Regions from separate parts of the Homo sapiens genome. Here all the other regions are linked to region 2. The links are contacts of gene promoters, found by promoter capture Hi-C in blood cells and fetal thymus (Javierre and others, 2016). All regions are on one chromosome and are shown on one strand. The core of a region is centred on a gene start or on the middle of the fragment in contact, and the rest is flanking DNA. Distances in the headings are between cores, read along the strand shown. Region 1 has its middle 2.8 kb from the start of INO80C. Region 2 holds the start of ZNF24 (zinc finger protein 24). Region 3 overlaps MAPRE2 (microtubule associated protein RP/EB family member 2). Region 4 overlaps GALNT1 (polypeptide N-acetylgalactosaminyltransferase 1). Region 5 overlaps MAPRE2 (microtubule associated protein RP/EB family member 2). Region 6 has its middle 79 kb from the start of ZNF397. Region 7 has its middle 61 kb from the start of ZNF397.

Evidence for each region. Contacts are between HindIII fragments. The CHiCAGO score rates a contact against its expected background, and 5 or more counts as called.
Region 1: a contact is called between a fragment that was not itself captured here and the fragment with the promoter of ZNF24 in region 2, in 2 of 17 cell types (fetal thymus and non-activated CD4 T cells). The highest score is 7.3, in fetal thymus.
Region 3: a contact is called between a fragment that was not itself captured here and the fragment with the promoter of ZNF24 in region 2, in 1 of 17 cell types (total B cells). The highest score is 5.1, in total B cells.
Region 4: a contact is called between a fragment that was not itself captured here and the fragment with the promoter of ZNF24 in region 2, in 3 of 17 cell types (fetal thymus, monocytes and naive CD8 T cells). The highest score is 6.5, in fetal thymus.
Region 5: a fragment that was not itself captured here is called in contact with the fragment with the promoter of ZNF24 in region 2 in 1 of 17 cell types (naive B cells); the score reaches 5.0 in naive B cells.
Region 6: a fragment that was not itself captured here is called in contact with the fragment with the promoter of ZNF24 in region 2 in 2 of 17 cell types (total B cells and naive B cells); the score reaches 7.3 in total B cells.
Region 7: a fragment that was not itself captured here is called in contact with the fragment with the promoter of ZNF24 in region 2 in 2 of 17 cell types (naive B cells and total B cells); the score reaches 6.6 in naive B cells.

The regions. Positions count from the first base shown.
Region 1 is chr18:35,499,031-35,502,501 of GRCh38, forward strand. No RefSeq gene overlaps it. Among named protein-coding and RNA genes, the nearest start is that of INO80C, 2.8 kb to the left of the region's middle. The HindIII fragment of the contact is 1,722 bases long and covers 1,222-2,943 here.
Region 2 is chr18:35,342,927-35,346,183 of GRCh38, forward strand. It overlaps ZNF24 (zinc finger protein 24), which reads right to left and starts at 1,494. Exons shown (of 4, transcript NM_006965.4): 1 at 1,434-1,494. LOC124904283 (a long non-coding RNA gene) reads left to right here and starts at 1,128. Exons shown (of 2, transcript XR_007066337.1): 1 at 1,128-1,813. RefSeq lists an enhancer at 812-871 and a silencer at 1,552-1,721. The HindIII fragment of the contact is 2,541 bases long and covers 1-1,828 here.
Region 3 is chr18:35,101,796-35,105,286 of GRCh38, forward strand. It overlaps MAPRE2 (microtubule associated protein RP/EB family member 2), which reads left to right. Exons shown (of 7, transcript NM_014268.4): 4 at 151-364. Among named protein-coding and RNA genes, the nearest start is that of MAPRE2, 62 kb to the left of the region's middle. The HindIII fragment of the contact is 5,583 bases long and covers 1-3,491 here.
Region 4 is chr18:35,583,315-35,586,671 of GRCh38, forward strand. All of the region lies in intron 1 of GALNT1 (polypeptide N-acetylgalactosaminyltransferase 1), which reads left to right. Among named protein-coding and RNA genes, the nearest start is that of GALNT1, 3.3 kb to the left of the region's middle. The HindIII fragment of the contact is 2,443 bases long and covers 169-2,611 here.
Region 5 is chr18:35,140,679-35,143,822 of GRCh38, forward strand. It overlaps MAPRE2 (microtubule associated protein RP/EB family member 2), which reads left to right. Exons shown (of 7, transcript NM_014268.4): 7 at 1-2,792. Among named protein-coding and RNA genes, the nearest start is that of ZNF397, 99 kb to the right of the region's middle. The HindIII fragment of the contact is 1,315 bases long and covers 1,238-2,552 here.
Region 6 is chr18:35,160,577-35,164,116 of GRCh38, forward strand. No RefSeq gene overlaps it. Among named protein-coding and RNA genes, the nearest start is that of ZNF397, 79 kb to the right of the region's middle. The HindIII fragment of the contact is 2,011 bases long and covers 1,180-3,190 here.
Region 7 is chr18:35,178,035-35,181,210 of GRCh38, forward strand. No RefSeq gene overlaps it. Among named protein-coding and RNA genes, the nearest start is that of ZNF397, 61 kb to the right of the region's middle. The HindIII fragment of the contact is 4,063 bases long and covers 1-3,176 here.

The sequences.
Region 1 (3,471 bases), core at 833-3,332, 160 kb after region 2:
CAGTCCCCCCAATCACAGTACCTTGCAAGTCATTGGTGCATTATAAGTATTTTTAATGATGTATTTAACGAATGAACTAACTCCCTGCAGTGATTGGTGGAAGCTACTATGTTTGAATACAGGAAGTTGATGTATATGAGTCTTGATATTTGAAATAAACAGGCTGCACAATGACTTAGAGGTGAGAGAGAAGGAGCAGTTAGGGAAACTTGCAATATTGTTACTGACATATTTTTTCCTTTAGAGAAAGGAATAAGCCTACCAGTGTTGAAATGTTCTTTCCCACACCCCATCTCCATCCCTATCCTCATCTAAAGCTAGTCTTTTCCTCATTCCTTAACTCAAGGACTCACCTCCAACAAGCCAGTCACCTAAGCAAACTCTACTGTCCCCACCTCCTCCCATTCCTCACCTCCTCAGCTCGCTTCTCTCCTTCACGGCTCCTGCCCTGGTGAATCTGTATCCCATGTCTACATCTCAGCAACAGCCTCCAGATGGACGTTTCGGCCGCCATCTTTCCCTTATCCATTCCTGACCCCAGACCATCCTTCACACTGGCTGCCAGAATGGGATTTCTAAATTACAAATATAATCATACCACTTACTTTCTTACATTCTTCAGGGCCCTTTTGCCTTCAGGGTAAAATTTTTTTTTTACCTTCAGGGTAAGAACGTTTTGGCTTGTCATACAAGGTCCTTAATGACTGGGCTCTGGGCCGGGCGCGGTGGCTCACACCTGTAATCCCAACACTTTGAGAGGCTGAGGCGGGCAGATCACAAGGTCAGGAGATAAAGGCCATCCTGTCCAACACGGTGAAACCTCGTCTCTACTAAAAATACAAAAATTAGCTGAGTATGGTGGCATGCGCCTGTAATCCCAGCTACTCAGAAGGCTGAGGCAGGAGAATCGCTTGAACCCGGGAGATTGCAGTGAGCAGAGATCGTGCCACTGCACTCCAGCCTGGCAACAGAGCAAGACTCCGCCTCAAAACGACAACAACAACAACAACAACAACAACTGGGCTGTGCCCCATTCTGTTGCTTGGTTCCCAACACTTAATTCCTTGTGTTCCAGCCAAGGACTAACTCTATTTCCTAGAATGTATATGTTTTCTTAGCTTGTCATATTTTTGTTTCTATTATTTCCTCTCCTGGGAATGCTTAGCTCCTTGCCTGATTACCATCCATTTTGCCTCAGTTCAGATGCTACTTCCAATGAAAAGCTTTCTGCCATCTGACACACCTTCCTTCCCCTTCCCTTTCCCTGTCCTCACGCTGTGCACGTGAGCACAGGGGGACCTGCTGGGCTGCTTCCTGTCATCCCTTATTGAGTTCAAACACCAACTCCCTACTTTTAAGGAGTCAGACAAGTGGATGCACCGCCATCTGGTTTCCTGTTACTAAATTCAGGCCTGATCTTGTCTGATTCCTTTCTTTCTGAAATTCTTCCCTTGGTATCTGAAACATCACCATCTTTTTGTTTTCCTCTTTCCTGGCCAGTCTTCTGTTACCAAATGGTCTCTAATGCTACTACAGGTTTTTCAAAATATATAGTCACATGCTCCTGTAGATTCACATTTTAAAAGTTTCCCAAGTGATTCTAATGATCAGCCAGGTTTGAAACCAGACTCTTGCACAGAATCCTTACATATTGAGAGTTCCTTGGTGCTTGGTCCAAGGCCCTCTGCTCTTCTCAGTTGATACTCTCCCCAGCCATTGCACCATTTCTTGCGGATTCAGTTACCACCTAAATGCAGACCACTTTCAGATTTGCATCCTTTATCTGGCTCTTTCTCCAAAGATGCATACCCAAGGCCAGGTATGGTGGCTCATGTCTGTAATCCCAACACTTTGGGAAGCCGAGGCGAGTGGATCACTTGAGGTCAGGAGTTCAAGTCCAGCCTGGCCAACATGGGTGAAACCTCGTCTCTACTAAAAAAATACAAAAATTAGCCAAGCATGGTGGGGCCTGCCTGTAGCCCCAGCTACTTGGGAGACTGAGGCACAAGAATCACTTGAACTCGGAGGGTGGAGGTTTCAGTGAGCCTGGGCGACAGAGGAAGACTCCGTCTCAAAAAAAAAAAAAAAAAAGCATACCTGGACGTAAAATTCCTTTCCCTAGTATAAACTCAGATGCTTACACGCATCTTTCACTCCGCATGGCAAAAACAGAATTCATCATCCTCTCTGCTCCTCTAAAACAGATTCCTCCTTCAGTGTTTCCTGTCTCAGCAAATGCCACGATTAGCCACCAGTTCTTCAGACCAAAACTTGGGAGTCATCCTTGACTCCTCCCCTTCCTCCACTCCACACCATAACCGTATTCCAGCCACCATCTCTCTCTGGACTTGCAAAGTGGCCTTATGCGTTCTCTTTCTGCCTCCACCTTTGGTCCGTGCAACCCAGTTCCAACATGCGATTCCAGATGATTTCTTTAAAGATACAAATGTGCATTTTTCAGATCACACCGCCTGCTTGAAACCATTCAGTGGCTTCCTGTGGTCCCTAGAATGAAGCCCATTGTCCACGAGGTGGTTCCAAAGGTCCTTAGAGACCTGCCATCTCTCCAGCTTGCCTCTGTCCCAGGTCCCTGCACTCCTGCTCAGTTTTCACTTTTGTTAGTTCCAACAACCAGCTGTGCCCCTCCTCCCTCAGGCCTTGACACACTGCTCCTCCTGCCTGGAAGCTGCTTTTCTCCCGACCCCACCCTCCTCTGGTCTCACTAAATTCCACGCACCCTTCCTATCTTGGCTGACATGCTACATTTTCAGTGTTCCCTCTCCTCTGGTCTGGTTCCACATTCCCATCAGTCTCTCTCAGTTATTTAATCCCTGTTGATTACCTTTTTTTCTTTTTTTTTGGGAGGATCTTTCTATGTAGCCCAGTACATACATTTCTAGTAGGGAAGGAAAGATATTATATTTGTCTTCTCAGCTGGACTTAAGCTTCCTATAGGCAGTTGCCAGAGTCATCAGGGATTGAGTGGCAGAGCATCAACAGATGACAGCAACAAGGAGAGTGGGAGAAATGCTGGAGGACATTGGCTTGAGAAACCTGCCCCATGATCACCGTGGTAGTGCCAGTTACTACCAGTGTTGGCACATACCAGGATCCCATATACTTGCTGCATATGTAACTCATGGGTTTCCTTGTCCATTGGTAAAGATAAATTAATACTGATGACTCAACATTCTGCTAGCTTATGTGTTGAGACAGGGCCTAAGGCTGCCCTAAGTTCCCTCCTCAGTTATTCCTGAAAACTTGCAGGGTGTGTCTCACCCCTGCCGTAGTGTGCGCCCTCTCTTGCACTTCCTCTTCAGCTTCCTTCCTGGTACTTGCAGCTCCTGTTTCCCTCACCAATGCCACACTTCCTTTGGCAAAGGCTGCTGGGGCTTTCTCTGGGATATTGATGCCCTGACTGCGGTGTACCAGTTAAGCAGCCTCAGCCAGAGTCTTGATCCCAGTTAAGAC
Region 2 (3,257 bases), core at 244-2,743:
CTACTTCAGTGCTTTCTAAATGTGCCTGACCCTGGAACGCATTATTTCCAATTCAGGATTGGTGTTTCCTGACACACACAAGTCAACTCAAAAGGAAGGTTCGCTTTATTATTATGTGCTTAAAAAAATTTTCTTTACCATTTAAAAAATATTTTTAAGGTGTTTAAGAACTCCTTGGACTTATATGTGAAAAAATGTTCACTTGCTGAGTAGCAGATCACATAATATTGAAAAGATCATATGTGAAAAACATCACATAATTTTGAAAAATTATCTTGCACATAATACGTAAATATTCAGTCTTCCACCACACCATACGTACATTTATATTTATAATGATAGGCATTAATCACAGAAACTTCTATTAAGAAAAGGCACTCGCATAAGCACCTTGACTTCCTGCAGTGGTCCAGTGTCTTGTCCTTACACTGGAGGACTCACAGTTTCCCCAGCTTCTACCTTCAGTGAAACTGTATACTGCTTCTGGACCTTTATTATTTGCACGATCATGCCCGTGCTGTTGTTTACGACACATACTAGCAATGAGCCATTCAGCCTATTTATTTATTCAGGGCCCAAAATCTGAACAATAACAACTTAAAAAAACTTATTGTAACCCAAGCAAGATGAAGACTAGAATCAGAAAAGGCCTTATCAGACAAGTAATACATACTGGTTTAATTAAATACCCTGGAGTGTGGTGGCCTTATACATAAGGTCTAGCCAACATTCATTCGTTCCTATTCCAAGACCCTGCTTATCAACGGTGCAAGTATTTCTACATAATTTTCTCTTCCTTTTATGCTGTAGAGCATACCGCTTGTGGGAAATGGAGGGAAGGCCCACGGTCCCGACAATGTTTGGGCAGGGTACCTCGTCCCAGGTGGATCGCCCACCTTACTGCTGCATAGACCTGCTGTGTATCCCGGCCCCGGCCCCGGCCCCGGCCCGACGTCCTCTAGCCCCTCTTCCCAGCACTCAGGACCGCGGATTTCAGATGACCAAAGGCCACCCTGTGACAACAGCGTCGGAACCACGGCACTTCCGCCTGCGGCCGGTGAGACTACAAATCCCAGAAGCCCCGCGCAAGTCTCGTCCCACTACCACCCCCTCCCATCACGACTCCCAGAACCCTCCGCGAGACGCCAGGGCCTCGAAATAGAACAAAACCGGCCGGTGGGGGAGGGGGAAGGTGAGGGTCTCGGAGGACACAGGGGGTTAGAGAGCTCTCTGCAAATGCCGAAGACCCAAGCAGGCCTGCCGCCTACCCCTCCCCGCCCCACAACTGCTAGGCGCGGAGACCGCGGCCTGTTCCCCGCGCCTCCCGGGAAGCTGAGGAAGGTCCCGGACAGGCTTCCCCGCCGGCTCCTGCTAAGAGGTCCGCAGACCCTAGCCCGGTGTCCCCCCTCCCTCTCATAACGTTCCCCGCACACCGGCGCAAACCTCCGGCTCAGGAACCGCAGCAGCTTCGCTGTCCACGGCAGACGCAGAAACGCCGTTCACAAGCCTTTTCCCAGAAGCCCCCGGCGCGGGCTGCTTCCGGTCTGCGGGCCTGAGGAGGCGGGGAGAGGTAAAGCCCACGTTGCCATGGAGAAGCGCCCCGGGCGGGGGAGGGGCGGCCCCACGACAATGACCGCATTGAGGCTGCGCTTGGCCTCGCGCCTCTCCTCGAACAGCCCAGCGTCCTCTGGACCGTTTAAAAGAAAACATAAAGAGGACTCTACCATTAAGATAGTCCTTACAATTTCGCAAGCCCTTTCACGTGCATTATCTTGTGGATCCTCTCAGTAATCCCCTGCAAGAAGGAATGAAAGTGAGTGTTTGTGAAAGCTTACTACATTGTGCCAGGCGCTCTCGTCGTGCTTTACATGTCATTTTTTTTTCCACAAATAAATGATGTAGGAACTTTCATTATCCCCATTTCACAGCTGAGATAGTTGAGGCACAAATACAGTAAATAACCTGACAAGAGCTCACAACTCATTTGTGGGTAGCAAGATTTGAAACCAAGACGTGATTCAAATCTTTGGCTCCCACTAGTTATGTCATGGAGCTTTATTCCGACCTATTTATCTGTCAGGAAAACTAGATAAGACAGGTTAAGAGTTTTGGCAGTGATGTCACGGTGAATTTGTAGAATGCATGGTCATCTTAAAGCTGGGCATTTTATACCATAAAACAACTGCTGACGCGATCATTTAAAATTACAAATCAGACCACTTCACTCCCCTATTTAAAGCCCTCCAATTTATGTCATAATAATTTATGACATAAAAACTCCTTATAATGGCCTGTAAGTCCCCTGTGGTCTGTTGCCTGCCCGCACCCCCAGACCCTGGCGCCCCCAGTCACCTCAGCTCCTCGGCTCATTGTGGCCCAAGATCCTCAGCCTCACCACCTGCCTTTCATGGCGCATGACCCTTCATGGCACTGTTATTAATGGAAGTGATCTCATTTATTTACTTGTTTTATTTTTTGTTTTGTTTTGTCTTTAAGTCCCTTAAGGGCAGGGACCTTGTCTGTCTTGCTCACCACAGTATCCCATCCTAGATCCTGGAAGCTGACTGCCTGGTAAATAGAGAACTCAATAAATATTTGTTGAATAAATAAATGAATTGTGGGATGGTTACATTGCTGCCTTTAGCTAGGTCACATGATTGGCATCAGACACCACACAAAGGAGCCCTGTTGTTTAAGGACTGGTCAAAAGTGTAGATCCAGCCTAACATAAGCATTTCAAGATCCTCAGGCTTTGACTTTTTGCCTCATTGGAGAAAATGCCCTCTGAAAAGTGCCGTCAGGCTCCGCTGGATTCGTGCATGAGAGAGCAAGTGAGCGAGCAGCTGATGGTATACCACTGCTTTTCATTCCGACCAGAGCTCTTCTCACAACCCCTGCTAACACTTCTCTCCATTGCAGGAAGCTTCAGAAGTACAGCCTTTTCACTCTGCTACTTGGATACGGCCCCTAAGCAACTTGGCTGCTCTTCCCAACCTTTCCCTCTTATCTGATTTGTAAAGGCTAGCTGAAGGCATTTTTGTTTTAAGAGTTTTTACATCTAATTAATGTTGGAAAACAAAAATAATAAATCTGAAACCTAACCTTGAGGAAGTTAAAAATGTTGCAAAATTTTACAAAACCCTTTTCCTGTGATTATATTGTTTGTTTTGTTTTTGAGACAGGGTCTTGCTCTGTCACCCAGGCTGTAGGGCAATGGTGCAGTCTTGGCTCACTGCAGCTTCAACCTCCCAGACTCA
Region 3 (3,491 bases), core at 810-3,309, 240 kb before region 2:
CACTTAGGTTGCTTCCAAATCTTAGCTATTATAAACAGTGCTGCCACAAACTTACAAGTGCAGATATCTTTTTGAGATACTGATTTCCTTTCTTTTGGGTATATACCCAAACGTGAGGTTTGTAACTCACATAGTGATTTTTTATTGCAGGTAATTCCAGTGGAGAAGCTAGTGAAAGGACGTTTCCAGGACAACCTGGATTTTATTCAATGGTTTAAGAAATTCTATGATGCTAACTACGATGGGAAGGAGTATGATCCTGTAGAGGCACGACAAGGGCAAGATGCAATTCCTCCTCCTGACCCTGGTGAACAGATCTTCAACCTGCCAAAAAAGTCTCACCATGCAAACTCCCCCACAGCAGGTATTGTCACAATGAGATTGCGGGAGTTGCTTTCATCTTTGATAATGGCTCAGACCCTTCTGTTATTTACTGTGTGTTTCTGACTGATTCTTCTCAACAGTCAATATTTTAATGCCTTCGGATGATTTCTACTGTTGTCTGTTTCACCACATTTATCTTCCTGTGACCCATTTGTCATTAGTCTAACCATCTTCATTTAAACTATTAAAAAGGCAGAGCTATTTGCATTGTATCACTGAAGCTGGCAGTGAAAATAATGCTCCCAGGATAGATTTCTTTTTCCTTTTAGTTTTTCGAGAAATTTCAAGTAGCCTGTTTAGATTTTGACTGAAGTATTTTTACTGCTTAATTGCTGGCAGTACAGACCAGCATATGAACTGAACTCTGTTGTTAAATATGGATCATCGTCTCTAACCCTTCAAAGGAAATTCGTGAACTGTACATCCTACCTCCTCTGTAGGCAGTGGCAATTTTTATGCAGTAACATTCAGCAATACCCTATTTATCCAGCTTTGTCCAAAAGTGAAGTCGTTGAGGAAAAATATCTGGAACATTAAAACTTTTAAAACTTCTGTGGATAAAAAAAGAAAAAACCACTTTCTAAAATATATTATAAACATCCTTGCCATAAACAGCAGACCTTACCAAGCAGAATGTGTTCTTATAAAATTGGGTCATTATTAGAAACACAGTTGGGTACTGCACAATTAAGCATGAAATCATCCAAAATCATGTTTCCATCTCAATTGTGGAACCCAGTGTTCAAACTTGTTAAATCAGTAACCTGAATTTTGTAAATAAAACAAATTTCTTATTTGTGCCCAAACTACAATCTGAATGAAGTAGAAATGGTTAACAGGACCACATAGGTGGTAAGAGCTTTGAAATCACAGTTTTGCTTACTGTTAAACAGCATTTTTATCATCTTATTTCTGGATTTATGGCTGTATTCCAGGCAGACTGAAACCATTGGAAAACTGGCATTACTTTTTGAAATTTTTTTAATATTTAAAAATAAATATTTTTAAGGATAACATGAATACTCATACTCACTAGTATGAATTAGATGAATTCTTCATCTGCCTTAAAATAGTACTCATGTAGATGAAGAGGAATGAACAACTCTGGGAGAGTTGTTAGGAGGCAAAATAGACTGGATGTTGGTAATGGCTGAATGCTGGGATAAAAGAGAAGGAGATGTTAAACATGACTTCTTGTACAACTGGAAGGATTTGGGGTTTTGTTCAAGAAGTGCTGAAAGAGAACCAGATTTGGGAAGAAATCTTGAGTTTGTTTTGAACATACTAAGTTTGAGATTCTTTTGTGACATTTAAGAGAAGATCTACATAGGCAATTTTTGTGTTGGGGGTGGTGCACATGTGTGTCTGGAGCTCAAAGGAGTTATAGGCTAAAGATAAACATTTGTGATTCTTCCACATATTGATGTAATGGAAGCTGGAAGCAAATACTGAATGATAAAGGGTAGAGTGTCTTGAGAAACTTGGACATTTACTGGTTGAGTAGAAGAGGAAGGGCTTGCATAGGAAGCAGAGAAGGTGCCAGAAAGAATGAAGGAAACTAGGAAGTGATGTGTCAGGGAAGCAGAAGGTAGGGAGCATAATGGTCAACAATGTCTACATCTGCTGAGAAGTCAAGTTAAATGAGGCCTGAAAGAGTTCATTAGATTTCTCAACTTGAATGATTTCTCCGTTCAGTAGAATGGTAGAGCCAGGAATGGCTTGAGGAAAAAGTTGGAGAAAGGAAATTGAGACAGTGGAAAGATCCAACTTTGGAGCCATAATGGGTGAGCCTATATAGAATAAAGAAAACTAAGCACAGATCTTTGGAAATACATACATTTAAGGGGGAGGAGGAAGAAGAGGAAGCTGCAAAAAAGATGAACATCAGGAAGAAAACCAGAAGAGCTCAGCATCAGAGAACAAAAACCGTAGGAAATTTGTAGAAAGAGGGGTCACCAACAGTGCCAAATATTAATTGTGGCGATATCAAATAGGATGAAGCCTGAAAAATAGGCCAAAGTCTGACTCCTAGGAGGTGATTAATAGTCCCTCAGAGAATTGGTCCATTAAAATACTGAGGGCATAGGCCTAGATTGCAGCAATTTAACAAGGGCTTGTGGAAGTGGAGGCAGTAAGAGTAGATTCAACCTTTAACAAATGTGTCAGAAAAAAATGGAGGAAAATAAAAACATTTGGTTTGTGTAGGGAAAAGAGTGATAGTAGCTTCAGGAAATAAGATTGGAAGGAAGATGTTATTTTTTTTCAACTGTTCTTGTTTGCTTTTAGGATAAGGCAATGTAAGCAGGTTTGTAAGATGGGAGACATGTCTGTGGAGAAGGAATCATTGAAAATAGAAAAAGAGGGGAAATTGGAGTATGACGCTAAAGCTGAAAGGAAAAGGTGAGATGTCAAGGGCATAGATAAAGTGTTAGAAAGGAAAAGAGAGGATATTTATTTTCTTGGAGCCAAAGCGATAGGAGAGGCTGGGTAAAAATTAAGCCACAAAGAGTTTGGGAAACAAACATTGATGGCAGTTTAGATAGGCCTTCAACTTTTGTCAGCAGTTTTCATCAGTCTAGGAGCTGGGGTGGAGAAAAGGGGGATGTTGTGCCCTCTCCAAAGTCTGGGATTCAGGAGGTATGTCGGGTGGGAGGACAAAAAGCTAAGAAAATCAAGGGTGTCTGATATTTCTCATCTTAATGTCATTTTCTAAAGCTGTGAATGATGGATAGCTTGGACTCGAAACTCAACTGCCATTTTTTTCAAGTTTTCTGTAGTGAGATTGGACAGACCTCAGAATATTTTCTTCCACGATCATAACCTGTCCTTAATTTTTTTCTCATTGGTACCAATATTCCTCCACACCCAAATAGCACTGTTACTATGCTACCTTGGCCTCGTTTTCTAGGAATTCCCTCATCTGTCTTTCACAAAAGCTGCAGATAAACGTGTGCCATTTTGATAGAATGTCCATGAACCTGAAAGAGAAATATATATTTTCTAGAGCTTAACCTCTTGGGTGACAATGCTCAGGAAACACATTAAAGTCAACAGATAATAAATTTTATTTTTAATGTTCTGGAAGGCAGTAATTTCCTGAGACCATG
Region 4 (3,357 bases), core at 140-2,639, 240 kb after region 2:
ACTTTGAAACCTGAGAAGCCTTTGTTCAGCGTGCTGGTGATAACTGCGTTTAATGACTGCTCTGCTGGTTTGTTTGGTGCCTCTTAAGCAGCAGACTGCAAAACTCTTGGGAGCACTCACCATTTATGCAAATACTTGTTAAATGCCTGGCTTTCTCAATAGAGTTTAAGCTTTATGAGAGCAGAGATTGTGGCTTCCTTTTCCAGCCATGTATCACTGAAGACTTTACAGTGCCTGGTAAGCAATAAGCACTTGGTATAAATGCTTGTTGGATAAACGAATGAGTGTGCTAGGATACTTAAGCGTGGTTGTTAGCTGGGTGTGGTGGCATGCGTCTGTAGTCCTAGCTATTCCAGAGTGACAGCGCGAGACCCTGTCTCAAAAAACTGAAAACCCAACAACAACAAAACTGATTGTTAATCCCAAGCAGTTACAGGCAAGGTAATTCTCATGACATCAGGTGAGAGAGCATGGGACCAGAGTCAAAATGAAGATAGATCTGTTTGTAACTTTCAGTGGGACGCTCCAGCTACTCTGACTGGAGTTTTGCTCCTGGCTCACTTGCATGCCCTATCCCTCTTTTAACTAATATAATAATAATTTTGAATCTGAATCACACATTAGTGCTTCATATAGTTTTTAAAAAATTTTGTATTTTTTTAGGTAGCTAAATTCCAGACATTATTTGGATTTCACCAGTTTTTCCGTTAATATCTTCTTTCTGTTCCAGAATCCAGTCCAGTGTACTACATTGTATTTTGACATCATGTTTCTTTAATATTTGGTTTGTGATAGTTTCTGTCTTGTCTGGTTTTCCATAACTTTGGTAGTTTTGAGGAATACTGTCCTGGCTTTCTTTGATGGACAGCTTTCCATACTCATTCTCATGAAAGGTCACAATCAGGTTGACGCTGTTTCTGCTTTTACTTATTTATTTATGTAATACATCTGTCATGCTTATGTAACATACAACTTTGGTACTTTTTTTTCAGTAACAGATTTCTTGGATACAGTTCCTAATTGGTTGAGATGCAGAAGAGTGTTATACCATTGCAGTTATATACCAAGTTTTATTTTTTGATGGGTTAAGAGCTGGGCTGAGGTAGAGGAGGAAGGAAAGAGGAGAGATCAGTTAAAAGAGGCAGTTAGGCAAAGAGGGACCAAGGCAAAGGGAGTGACAGATAATGGAGGAAGAGGAGTGCGGCAACTTCGTAGAAGAGAGTTAGGAGTGACTACTTACTGTTTGTTCATTTATTCAATTAATATTTATTGACTCAGCAGTCCCAGTCTCTCTGGCACCAGGGACCAGTTTTGTGGAAGACAGTTTTTCCGTGGACCAGGTTGGGGGCCAGGGGAATGGTTTCGGGATGAAACCGTTACACCTCAGATCATCAGGCATTAGATTCTCATAAGTCTTGTGCAACCTAGATCCCTCATATGTAAAATTCACAGTAGTGTTTGCCCTATGAGAATTTAATGCCGCTGGTGATCTGACCGGAAGGAGGTGGAGCTCAGGCAGTAATGCTCGCTTGCCCACTGCTCACCTCCTGCTGTGTGGCCAGGTTTCTAACAGGCCACAGACTGGTACTGGTTCATGGCTTGGGGGTTGGGGACCCCTGTATGGAGCGATTAATGTGTGCCACACCCAGTGCTGTAGTCTCAAGATAACTGGGGGTGGATAGCATTAAATAAACATGCAAATAAGTACATAAATACAATTTGTGATTATTGCTACACATTAGCAGTAAAGGATGCTGGAGAGATTGTAGGTGGGGGAACTTCAGGTTGGCTGGGTTGGGGAGGACGGCTTCTCTGGGTATGTAACATTTAAACTCCTGCACCTGACTTTTGGGGACCCTTCAGAGTTACCCTCCACATTTCTTATCCCATTTTTATGTTATTTCACAACCCCCGACACATGCCTCTTTCTTCATAGGCACTTTGCTTATTTCTGGCTCTGTACCTTTTTATGTGATTTCTTCTCCTTCCCAAGATGTCCCCTTCTCCACCTCCACTTGTGGAAGTGCTACCTGTTTTTCATAGATTTGCTCAAGGTCTTTCTCCTTGATGAAGTTATTCACTGTTGATTTATGCCTCTTGAGTGTATGGTGTTTAAGGGTAGGGATAACAGTTTACATTTATATCTGTGTGTCCTCATTTAGTCCTCAGTTACCTGGTTGCTTCCAATGGTATCATTTTGTAAAGCTATAGTACAATTTCCAGACCTGTAATAGTCACATTGAAACAGTCAAGATAGAGAAAATTTTCATGGCCACAAGATTTCCTTATGTTTTTTTGTAGCCACACCTACTACCCTTCTACCTCCACCCCCTCCTTAAACTCTGACAATTACTAATTTGTTCATTTCTGTAATTTTGCCATTTTAAGAATGTTTTATAAATGGGATAAGTGTCTTTTGGAATTGGCTTTATTCACTCAGCATAATTCTCTGGAGATTGATCCAGGTTGTTGCATGTATCAGTAATTACTCCCTTTTCATTGCTAAGTAATATTCCATAGTATGAATGTACTTTTACGGATCTTTTAACCATTTACCTGTTGAACATCTGGTTGTTTCTAGTTTTTGGCTATTGTGAATAAAGCTGCTGTAAGCTTTTGTGTATAGGTTTTTGTGTGAACAGAGTCTTTATTTCTCTGGGATATATGCCCAGGAGTACACTTACTGGGTTGTGTGGCAGTTGCATGTTTAGTTTTTTAAAAAACTGGTGAGCTGTTTTGTAAAATGTTCTAGCATGGCTGGAACATCCCAAAGTGCCGGGATTACAGGCATGAGGCACCACGCCTGGCCTGTCACCATTTAGCCATTCTGATAGGTGTATAGGGATGTCTCATTGTGGTTTTAACGTGCATTTCCTTAAAGGCTAATGATGTTGAACACTTCTCATGTGCTTATTTGTCAACTGTATATTTTCTTCAGGGAACTATCTTTTGTTCATTTTCTAATGGGATTGTTTGTCCTTTTTACTATTAACTTTTGAGACTTGTTTATTCTTTATATATTCTAAATACTGGTCCTTTGTTGGGTATGTTGTTTGTCTGTAGCTTGTCTTTTCATCCCCTTAATAAGGTCTTTTGCAGAGCAAAAGTTTTAAATTTGTTGAAGTCCAGTTTCTCAGTTTATTTTTTTATGGATCATTCTTTTTGGTGTCAAGTCTGGGAACTCTTTGCCTAGCCCTAGATCCTGAAGATTTTTCCCTTGTGCTTTTTTTCCCTAATAGTTTTGTGGTTTTTACATGATCCAGTTTATGAAGCTGAGATTTAGGTCAAAATTGTGTGTGTGTTTGTGTGTGTGTTTATGCGTGTGTCTATGGATGTTCAGTTACTTCAGCACCATTC
Region 5 (3,144 bases), core at 645-3,144, 200 kb before region 2:
CAACACCACTGCCACCACCCCTCTTTTTATCCTGGTGTGAAACAATGGTAATTTGATATATGGTATTTATATTGGCATTTTTCAACCCAGTGTCACTAGATGTCACACACATTTGTGGTGCTTTGATGTTTGCAAGTCTAACCTCTGAACATAAATTTGGTCAAATAATTGGAACAAAGGGAAACAGATACTTGATATGAAAGCCATAATGACGGTGACTTGTGTCGTGGGGGAAAACATAAGGTCATTTTCTCCCTCTACTCACAATACTAAAGGGAAAAAATGGATTCAAAGCTAGGATTTCAGGGCCCAGCAGTGTTCCTCCATCAGCATGTTAGACAACTACACAGTATGTTGTTAGTTTTGAAAGACATTCACTCAAGGAAAACACCATCTCAACTTTGCCCGCTCACCATGTCCCTTGCCCCCATGTAGCCCATTTCCCAGGTTATGCTCTTTTCTTTCTCAGGGTCCTCTTTGGTGGGCAGCCACTCCCCGAGATGTTGCCATCAGTTTTCTGCAGTCCAAAGAGGGTATGGTTAGGTACGGGTCTTCCTGCCTCATTCCTCTTCCTCTTTGTGTAGGTTTCAGCCACAAAACTGTCATTCACTCTAGGGGACCCCTACTAAAGGGTAACTTCAGGTGTGCAGCCCTGAGCTCCAAGGCTCTGCACCATGCCACACACTTGCTGTAAGGCTAGAAGTGAAGACCTTATTAATAGGAGCATAATTGCGAGGGAGAATCATGGTTCTGCAGTCTGGTGTAGACACTGGAATAACAGCACAGAAAAATCTATGACTCCCAATATCTTCTAGAATAAAGAATTTTCCCTCTTTAACACAAGGGCCCTCCTTGTCATTGACCTTAGCTAAACCATGGCAATTCATAAATAGAGGAAACATTAATGAATTAAAAGCATTCCTTATTTTTTAACTAATATTTGTACATTTTCTTAGTCTCTTTCCAAGTCTTTGCCTCTTTTTTTTCTTTATTTTTATTTTTTCCTTTGACAGATGGTATCCCTTCCTGGATCATTCATTTCACCTTGGTTTCTAACTTTAGGTTTACTTTCACTTGTTATTTGACTTAGCAGGTGCAACAAAAACAAGAAACAAATGTGCCCACCCCACTTTCCGCTTAACTGAAAAGCTTAAAATAAATTTCTGAATTATGTATCCTGAAGCTTTGAAATTTCTTTATTAATCGATGAAATATGAATTCTAAATTCTAGCATTGAAGCTTTTCACCAAAAGAAGTCTCTCCAAAATAAATCTTTTGCAGCAAAGTGATATTTATTGAGTTATGTGGAAAAGATGGCTTGTATTTTTCAGATTATTACAACACACTGTGCAGAATTAGACAGATGTTCCGTGGTGTTTGGTTTCCCTTTCTTCTCTCTCCTGCTCACTCTGCATTATAGCAGCAGCTTATTTCTCTAAGGCTGGACAGCCTGGCTCTCGGCAGTGACGTCCTCCCACACCTGGTCACAAGTAGTAGTGGCTGTGCTATACCCAGCATCATGCTTAACAGCGTGTTGCCCTTCTGAGCCTGTTGTACTCACTGATCTCTTTAAAAACAAAAAATAGCTCTTGTAAAAGGTCACAATAACTCTATGCACCTGATACTGCAGTGGTTCCTAGGCCATTCTTCATCTGCTCTGGACATCTCAGTCATACCCAATGCTCAGTGGATCATGACCAAACTCCTGTCATGTGGATGCACGTGAGTGGGTAGCAGGGAGTCAGGATCCTGCCTTCTCCAGCAACCCCTTACTGCTGTATAACTTGCATAAGCCTCCCTGGTGACTCTTGCAGGAACCACTCCATTGCCCTCCAGCTCCCCAGCCTTCTCAGTTATAAACATGCTGGCCAGATCTCTTAGCCTGCAAAGAGAACTTTCCCCAGTCACCATAGACCATTCTCCTTCCTGAAGGCTTGGGGCAGACCATTCGTTTATTTAGAGAAGAGCTATACATTCTTCTTTCTGGTCCCATCTTAAACGTCTTCTGTTGTGCTGCACCCCAGATGGTGTCTCAGATGCTTTGGGGAATCTTTAACAGCTGAATTTGAGTCAGTCCTCTTAGGCTGCACCTCCAGCCTCTGCAGATCCCCCCTCATTTCCCATGGATGGTGGGACCCCATTATTCTCTCATCTCGGCATTCAGGGAACAGTTTCCTTAGCGGCCCCTGGTCACATGTCATCGGGCTGGGCAGGAAGCGTCCCTGATTGCGTGCTCCACTTCTCCCTCTCAGGAAGCCCAGTTTCATCCTTAGTACCCCCCCTCGTGCCCGCTGTCGGCTGGTTATAGCACTTCCACTGCTACTGTCAGATAGGAAGTGATCGAAGCAGGGGGCAAAGAGAAAGCCCATATTTGTTCTAAGCAGAAAAGCAGGAAAAAAAAAAAAAAAAAAGAAAGAAAAACACCTGTTGACCTGAGAGAAGTAAATTCCAGAAGGGAACCAAGAACTCTTCCCTTCCCTGGTGAGTATTTCCATTATTCCGTTAAGGTTTAATATGCATTCAGATTACTTTTACTAAATAGGACACCATAAAGCTTTTGTTATATATTAAATGTAAACTGAAAGGAATGTAAACATATGTATTGTTAATTATAAATATAGATAAGTAATGACATAATAGATGAAAAAGTCTTATTCAGATGTATCACATTCATTTTACATTACCCACCTATTGTCGCATGGTAGAATAGTTTTTTGTCTCTGAATATGTGAATAACTTGACTTGCATTGATCTTTTTACATATTTAATAAAAAAAAAAGTATATGTTAAAATCTGCCTGGAGTTACAGATTCTTAAATTTTTATGCTGAAGCTTCCCTTTTCAGTCAGCATGTGAATAGGAATAGATTTGTGTGGATTTACACATCTACCCACATTTTATTATGATTTCCCCGGGGCGGGGGTTGTCTTTGTTTTTATTGATGGCCAATGTTGTTAACAAGAGTTACAGACTCGTATTTGATATCAAATGTAGCAGCTATAATACCTTTTAAAAACTTTACCAAAAAAAAAAAAAAAAAGACATAAAGAGAAAACATTCCCTTGGGAAACATTCCACCTGCAAGCAAACAGAATCCTAGCTCCTGCAGGTCCAGCATACTCCATCTGGACAAGACAGTGCTGG
Region 6 (3,540 bases), core at 935-3,434, 180 kb before region 2:
TCACCTCAGCCTTCCAAAGTGCAGAGATTACAGGTGTGAGCCACTGCACCTGACCCGTTTGGCTAATTTCTAACCTTTTACTGCTAAACTCCATGCACCATCACCATGTAGACTATGTCTGCCTGGCTCACCATCCTATCCTTAGCAACTAGCACACTTAACTAATACAAAGAAGGTGCACAATATACTTATGAATGAATGGAATGAAAAGTGCCTAGATGTAAGGTTGCTAAGAGGATGTAATAAAATAATACATGCAAAGAGCTTATTATTGTGCCTGGCACATAGTTGTACATTGTTGCCTACTGCAATTAGTGGTGGTGATGGTGGTATTGGTATAATTTCTCTCAGTCCATACCCAAACTAAAGTGTGATGTGCAAGAGAGATACTCTCTCTGTTCTCCAGAGACAGCCACCCAGAGATAGCCCCTATTCTACTGCTCCTTATTAGGCCCCCAGCACAACCATTAGCACTTCTAGCTCTAAATTCCTGCCTCCCCTTCCCACAGTTCATCCGCCTGCCATATATTCAACTTTCTAATGTATGTTGAGTCCCCAGAAGAATAAAGACTTTCATGGCTAACTGCTAGGTGGTAAGCTTTCTGCGCAACACTAGGCACTGGATCTACAGTGCTTTTTGGATCTACACATGGTCTCTTTTGACAGAAGTGGATTGGAGATCATCAGTCACCTACTATTGTTTTAGAAGTCAGAAGTACCTTGCCTCAGGTCACTACACATTTCTTCTGAAGGGGTTAGATCTTCTCTTTTAACACATTATGTTGTGATTGCTGGTGCTGAAGACTGTGTTCACCCTAGGGCATGATTTTAGGGGTGGGACCATTTTGTCCACGAATTTAATGTCCCCAGCACCTAGCAGTTTTGAGCACATAACAGAACTTGGTTTACCAAATAAAAATAAAAGAGAGAAGGGAAAAGGTGCAGTGGTGAAGTTTAACATCAGAGTTATTTCCTGTATATTCATTTTTCTCTCCATTAACACAGAGAACAAAAATTTAATTTTACATCAGAGAAAATTTACAATCCAGGTGGTCAGAACAAGAGAGATGAAAATGCAGAATTGCAGAGAGCCATGAAGCGTAACTTGACTCTCATGAGCATGGAAGTTTAACATCATGACTTTTAAAAATCTGTCATTTAACATATGATGTGTTTTCAAGCTTCAGAGACTGAATTCCATCAATGAATATTATATTCTGACTGCATGCTTGTGTTTGATTTTGAACTTTCCTTATATAAACCTCAAAACCAAAATTGAAAAGCCGTGTACAAGAAAAATAAAATGTCAAGTTAGAAAAAGATTTAGCAACACTGTACATCAATGATTTCAAATGTGATTCTGAGACCCTTGGGGAGTCCCCAAGAGCTTATTAGGAAATCTTCCAAGTCAAAATTATTTTCCCAATGAGCCTGAGATGTTATTTGCCTTTTTCATTCTTATTCTTTCACCAGTGTACAGTGGATCTTTTCCAAGGTTACGTGAGGTGTGATATCACAGCAAATAGTATGCAGAAGCAGATATCACAGTCCAACTGTCTAACAGTCCAACTGGCAGAAAAGTAGTGCTTCTAGCAGTCAAGAGCAGCCACGTTGAGATTGGTGAAGTCAATGAACCCAGTGCTGGATGGCAGGTACTAAAGGTGGAGATGTCCTGCCGATATCAAGATACAGAACTGCAGTGGAGGTGAGTGGTCAGAACCAGTGATGTGGATTTAAAGGTTAGTCCTCTGTAATGACAAGTAGCACCCCAGCAGTGAATAATCCTACGGAGTAATGAATGCAAAACATGGAGCTGTCCAAGGCAGAAGCTGTGGGAACTGGCACATTTTGGAGCAGGAGATAAATAAGAACCTAGATGTTGGGAAAGACTCACTGAGCGACCAGCTATGCAGGGCCCTGAAAAAAGTACCTTGGCATGACATAGCTGATAGACAGAAGGAAGGACAAAAGAGAGAAAGATGGAAACCAGAGGGGACAGCTTCAAGGAAGATTAGTCAACAATATCAAAGTCACATGAAAGACGCGAATGGTAAATTCCGATAAGCTAATGGATTTGACAAGAATTGGGTCATTGTCAGCTTCAAAAGAGAATTTTTAGTAAAGTAATGAGGTCAAAACAGCACATGAAAACTGCATGGGGAAAAGTCTAAAAGCAGAGCCCAGCACGGTGGCTCAACTCTGTAATCCTAGCACTTTGGGAGGCCGAGGCAGGAGGATTGCTTGAGCCCAGGAGATCCAGGCCACAGTGAGCTATGATGGCATCACTGCACTCCAGCCTGGACAACAGCATGAGATCTTGTCTGTAAGTTTTAAAACTTTTTAAAAATAAAACCATCTAAAAGCAAAAGGAAAAAAATAAAAGGGATACAAAACCCAGGAAAGAAAGATTTTTGGTTTAAACCAAGACTGTATACGGACATGAAGGCAATCCCCAAGGACCTCAGAGCCACTGAAGGTGCTGAAGGCAAAGGGAGGGTACCAAGGTATCTTGTGGGTACCAGGACACAGACTCTTCTCTTAAAAACACCCTGCTCATAAGACTACTTCCTGGTCCATCAAAACAGAATCCTAAGGAATCCTATTATTCACCAGTCAGCAAATATTAGGATGATGATGTAATGGTTAAAAGATCTACTCTAGTCAGATATCATTTAAAAGGCAACATTCAGATTTGAATAGGTCTTTTCTTGACATGAAGTACAAATAATAAAAATCCAAGTATCAGAATTTCATGTAGGAAAATAAATTGCTATGACAACCACAACTCAGTCTCCACAGAAAATATAAATAGGAACCAGAATGAGAAAATTATAGAGAATTTTTTCTGATTTGGAAACAATTTCAACTATGATTCTTTAATGTTTTGCTCATTTGGCTCTAATATGAGAACAAGAAAATATTCTTCTACTTCAATAGCTTCTTTGTATTACAAATTAAAATGACCAGACCAGCACGTATTGGAATGAAACTAGAAACCAACACCATCTAGTGACTTACTCCACCAAGATACCCCTGTTCCCTTCACTGCTAACTTCTAATATTTAAAGGACCACACCTAAAATTAAAGAATAACTTGCATCAAATGCATTATATTTATATTACAGGCCAAATAGTAAAAGCAGATAACAGGGGATATGAAATCACCGCATCTTCAACTGCCAGGTTATAAAGCTTCAAGTCAGTTGTAAAGGACCAAAGTTTCCTACCTTTTCTCCAGCATTTGCCTTTAACCATGACTATTCTGGACTCCTGCTATGAGGTTTGCTATTATTTGGATGACGAGAGAAGGCAGAGTAGGGCAGAGTCCAATATTCCCACTTCTCTCAGGATAACCAAGGCACTCCCTGGAGCCCACTCTCCCGAAGCCAGAACAACGAGACCTGCAAGCCCAGCTGGGGTCTCCAGGGATTCGATCTTTTGCACAGTGCTTTTGACTTAAGACATTTTCACTGCAAAGTGAGTGAGTGGGTTGCATATAGCTCTGTAATTAGCCAGGTTGTCCAATGCTGCCCAGGGCCC
Region 7 (3,176 bases), core at 394-2,893, 160 kb before region 2:
GCCCTGTACAAAAGCTAGGAAGGATTTAAAGTTCTTCAAAAGATTGTTATTAATGGGTCAGATTCAGAGACAATCAACTAGTTGATTCTAGTTCAAGGAGGAAGAGATTTGCTATCTTTCTTTGCCTTCCTTATAAAAAAAAATCAAGATTTCAAATATTTTATAAACAACTTTTAGCACATTCAATAAATTTGTTTATTATGTATTCTGATTATCTACTGCTGCATCAAAGCCCACTCTAAAACTTGGCGTCTTAAATGCAGTTTGGGCAGAACTCAGCAGGAACAGCTCATCTCTGCTTCACTCAGAGCAATTTAGACTGGGAGCTGGCACTATCTGAAGGTTCACTGATTCAGTTCTGATGGATGAAACTGGCTGTCAGCTGAGACCTCAGCTGGGGCTAGACCCACAACACCAAGCCTCTCCATGTGGCCTGGGCATCCTTACAACATGGTGACTCATCCCAAGAGAGAGTCAGTCAGAAGCTGTGTCACCTCTTTTAACCTAGTCTTTTAAGTCAAAGAATTTGCAGACAGTTTTTTAAACCACCATACTGTGCTTATCAAAAATGCAGATTCCTCACCATTCCTTTCAAATACATGGCCGTATCAGGAGCGTTAATAAAAGGAGCACTGCACCAAGACTCTGGGAAACTAGATTCAAATTCTGATACAGATTCAAGACTTTCAACATTTATGGATGTTAATTTTCCATGTTCAGAATAGGGACTAGAAAACTGGTGTGTTACAGATGAAGTTGAAGTGGGACAGAAGAACAGAGAGACGCAAGGAGACAGATTGCACAGTTCAAGTATTTAGCAGAGAAAGGTAGTGAAGGCAACTGGCAAAACGCTGTATCTAAACTCCAGTAAGATGCTTAAAACCACTGATGGGTCAATCCCATGAAAGCAGAGTGGAGAAGAGTGGTAGGCCTGTCAGCAGCCACCAGCAGTGACATCTTGCAGCAGATAGCAGATGGCTTTGAGGCCACAATTGGGTTTTGGTACCCCTGTCCCTGGGCAGAACTGTGCTTCCTCTGGACCCTGAACTTTCTGCTATTATTGAATCAAATCATACAGAACTATCATTGCATGCTTATATGACCAACTCTCCTGCTAAACAAATATGCTGCATATAGGCAGGGAATGTATTTTATTCATTTTTGAATCTCAGCACCTGTCACGTTACCTTCATTGCCTGGGACTCAGCAGGTGCTCATGAACAAATGGAACTGAACTATCAAGGTCAGAATGGAAAACCAGTCTCAAAGGAGTAAGAGTTTAGGGCAGGTTGTCAGGCCAGGATTTAGAACTCAAGGTAATAAAGGCCCAGTTATTAGATGTTGTGTTGGTCTAAATTCTATAACCAAGACAGACCATCAGTGACCTGATTCAGTGCTGAGGTCCTGAGTATGAGTGGCAACAAGGCCAATCTGCCTGAACTCTTAAATAAGGGCTCCTTAATTTCCCCCAAAATGAATCCTAAAGCCTGGGGTATAAGCCCTCAGGAAGGGAACAAGTAGTAGGGATAGGAAGGTCTGTAGCTATCCCATGTGAAAGAGAGCAGCAGGCAGCCTGTGAGGCTCTTTCTGCTCTTTGCTTCTAAGATCATTCCGCTTGGAAACGGGGCTGCCTAAGACCCAGTACACTCTGGGTAACATGCCTGGGCATCTCCCACCGTGCCATGAGGCTTCTCCGGGCCAGACTTCTCTGCCGTGAGCCCATCTATCTGACTGCTTCTAGACACCCACAGGCATCCAATAGAGCTCATCGTCATCCCCCAAACCAGTGTGCTCCTCTGCATTCCCTGACACTGACTCCGAGCAACAGAATCGTCCCCAACCAGCTGGCCAAGCAGAAGCCAGGCCTTGATCATGACTTCTTGCCTCACTCATTCCCAACTTGCAGTCCTGTTCTTTATCATCACTCAACATGGTCTCCTCTTCCAAGACACCCTTCCCTGACCCTGAAAGAGTTGCTCTGCCCTCTCTCCTGTCTTCCCATGGCATACCTTGATCATAACCTGCCATACCTTGATCATACCCTGCCATACTTCCGACTTCCCCACTGGACCGGAAGTATCTTCCGATCCTGGACCATGTGTTACTACACTGACCAAATGAAATGTTTGCTCAACAAATATTTGTTGGCCAATGAATGAACAAGCAAATTAATCCACAGTTCTTGTAAACCATGCCACCACCTAGCACTTCCTAACCCCCGACCCTTCTTCCTTTTTCTCCATAGCACTTACTGCCTTCTAACATATCATAAATTACCTTCTTTCTTTTGTGATCTCTTTGTTCTCAACACCACTCCTTGAATGTAAGCTCCATGACAAAAGGGATTTTTTTGTTGTTTTACTTCTGTATCCCAAGGGCATGAATTATGCCTGGCACTTAGTAGGTACTTAATAAATATGAATGAATGCTGAGCCTGTGCTGCTCAGCAAGGTTCAGATGGCCATGGCATTGTCTCAGCAGCTATTCCCCTAGGTTCTCTAGCAGTCATGCCTCCCAGTGTGCTACCCTTTCCCCATCTGAGACTTACTTTCCTCGTTGGCCTGAACAACAGCTTATTTTAGGGCAGCTGCTACTGCTGCAGAATCAGCTACCAAAGAAAACACTTCTCATCTTAGCATCTGGAAAACTCACTTTGTGTTTCAACTCTTATGTGCTCATGTGCCAGCAAAAGTACCTTTTTCATTTTTTACAGTCAAATATTCAAGTGACTAGAAAATATTAGTTTCAAAATGCATTTATGAGGAACTAGTTGGTTCCTGAAAATTCAAATGTTTGTCAAATTTTAAGATTTTTTTTAGAATTTGGTTTCAGGGAATATTAAATTTTGATGTATGTTCCTAAGTCAGTGCTAGGAAAATCACCTCTATTTTTATAATAACAAAGTCAAGGTTAGGGGCTGCCTACAGTCAGGAAAATTATGTTCTCTATCTTTTTAAAAAATTCATATGAGGTCTAAAATGCCACTAAAATGATGTTTTCAGGATTCCTTACATAAGAAAGGAAGAAACTACTGTTTTTCAGCACTTACCATATGCAGATACTTTAGATATGGCATACTGTTTAATTCTCATGACTCTGGAATATAGGTATGACTACACCCATTTCAGAGTTGAAGAAATTCTAAATCAGAGCAGTTCAGTAATTAACGTGATATG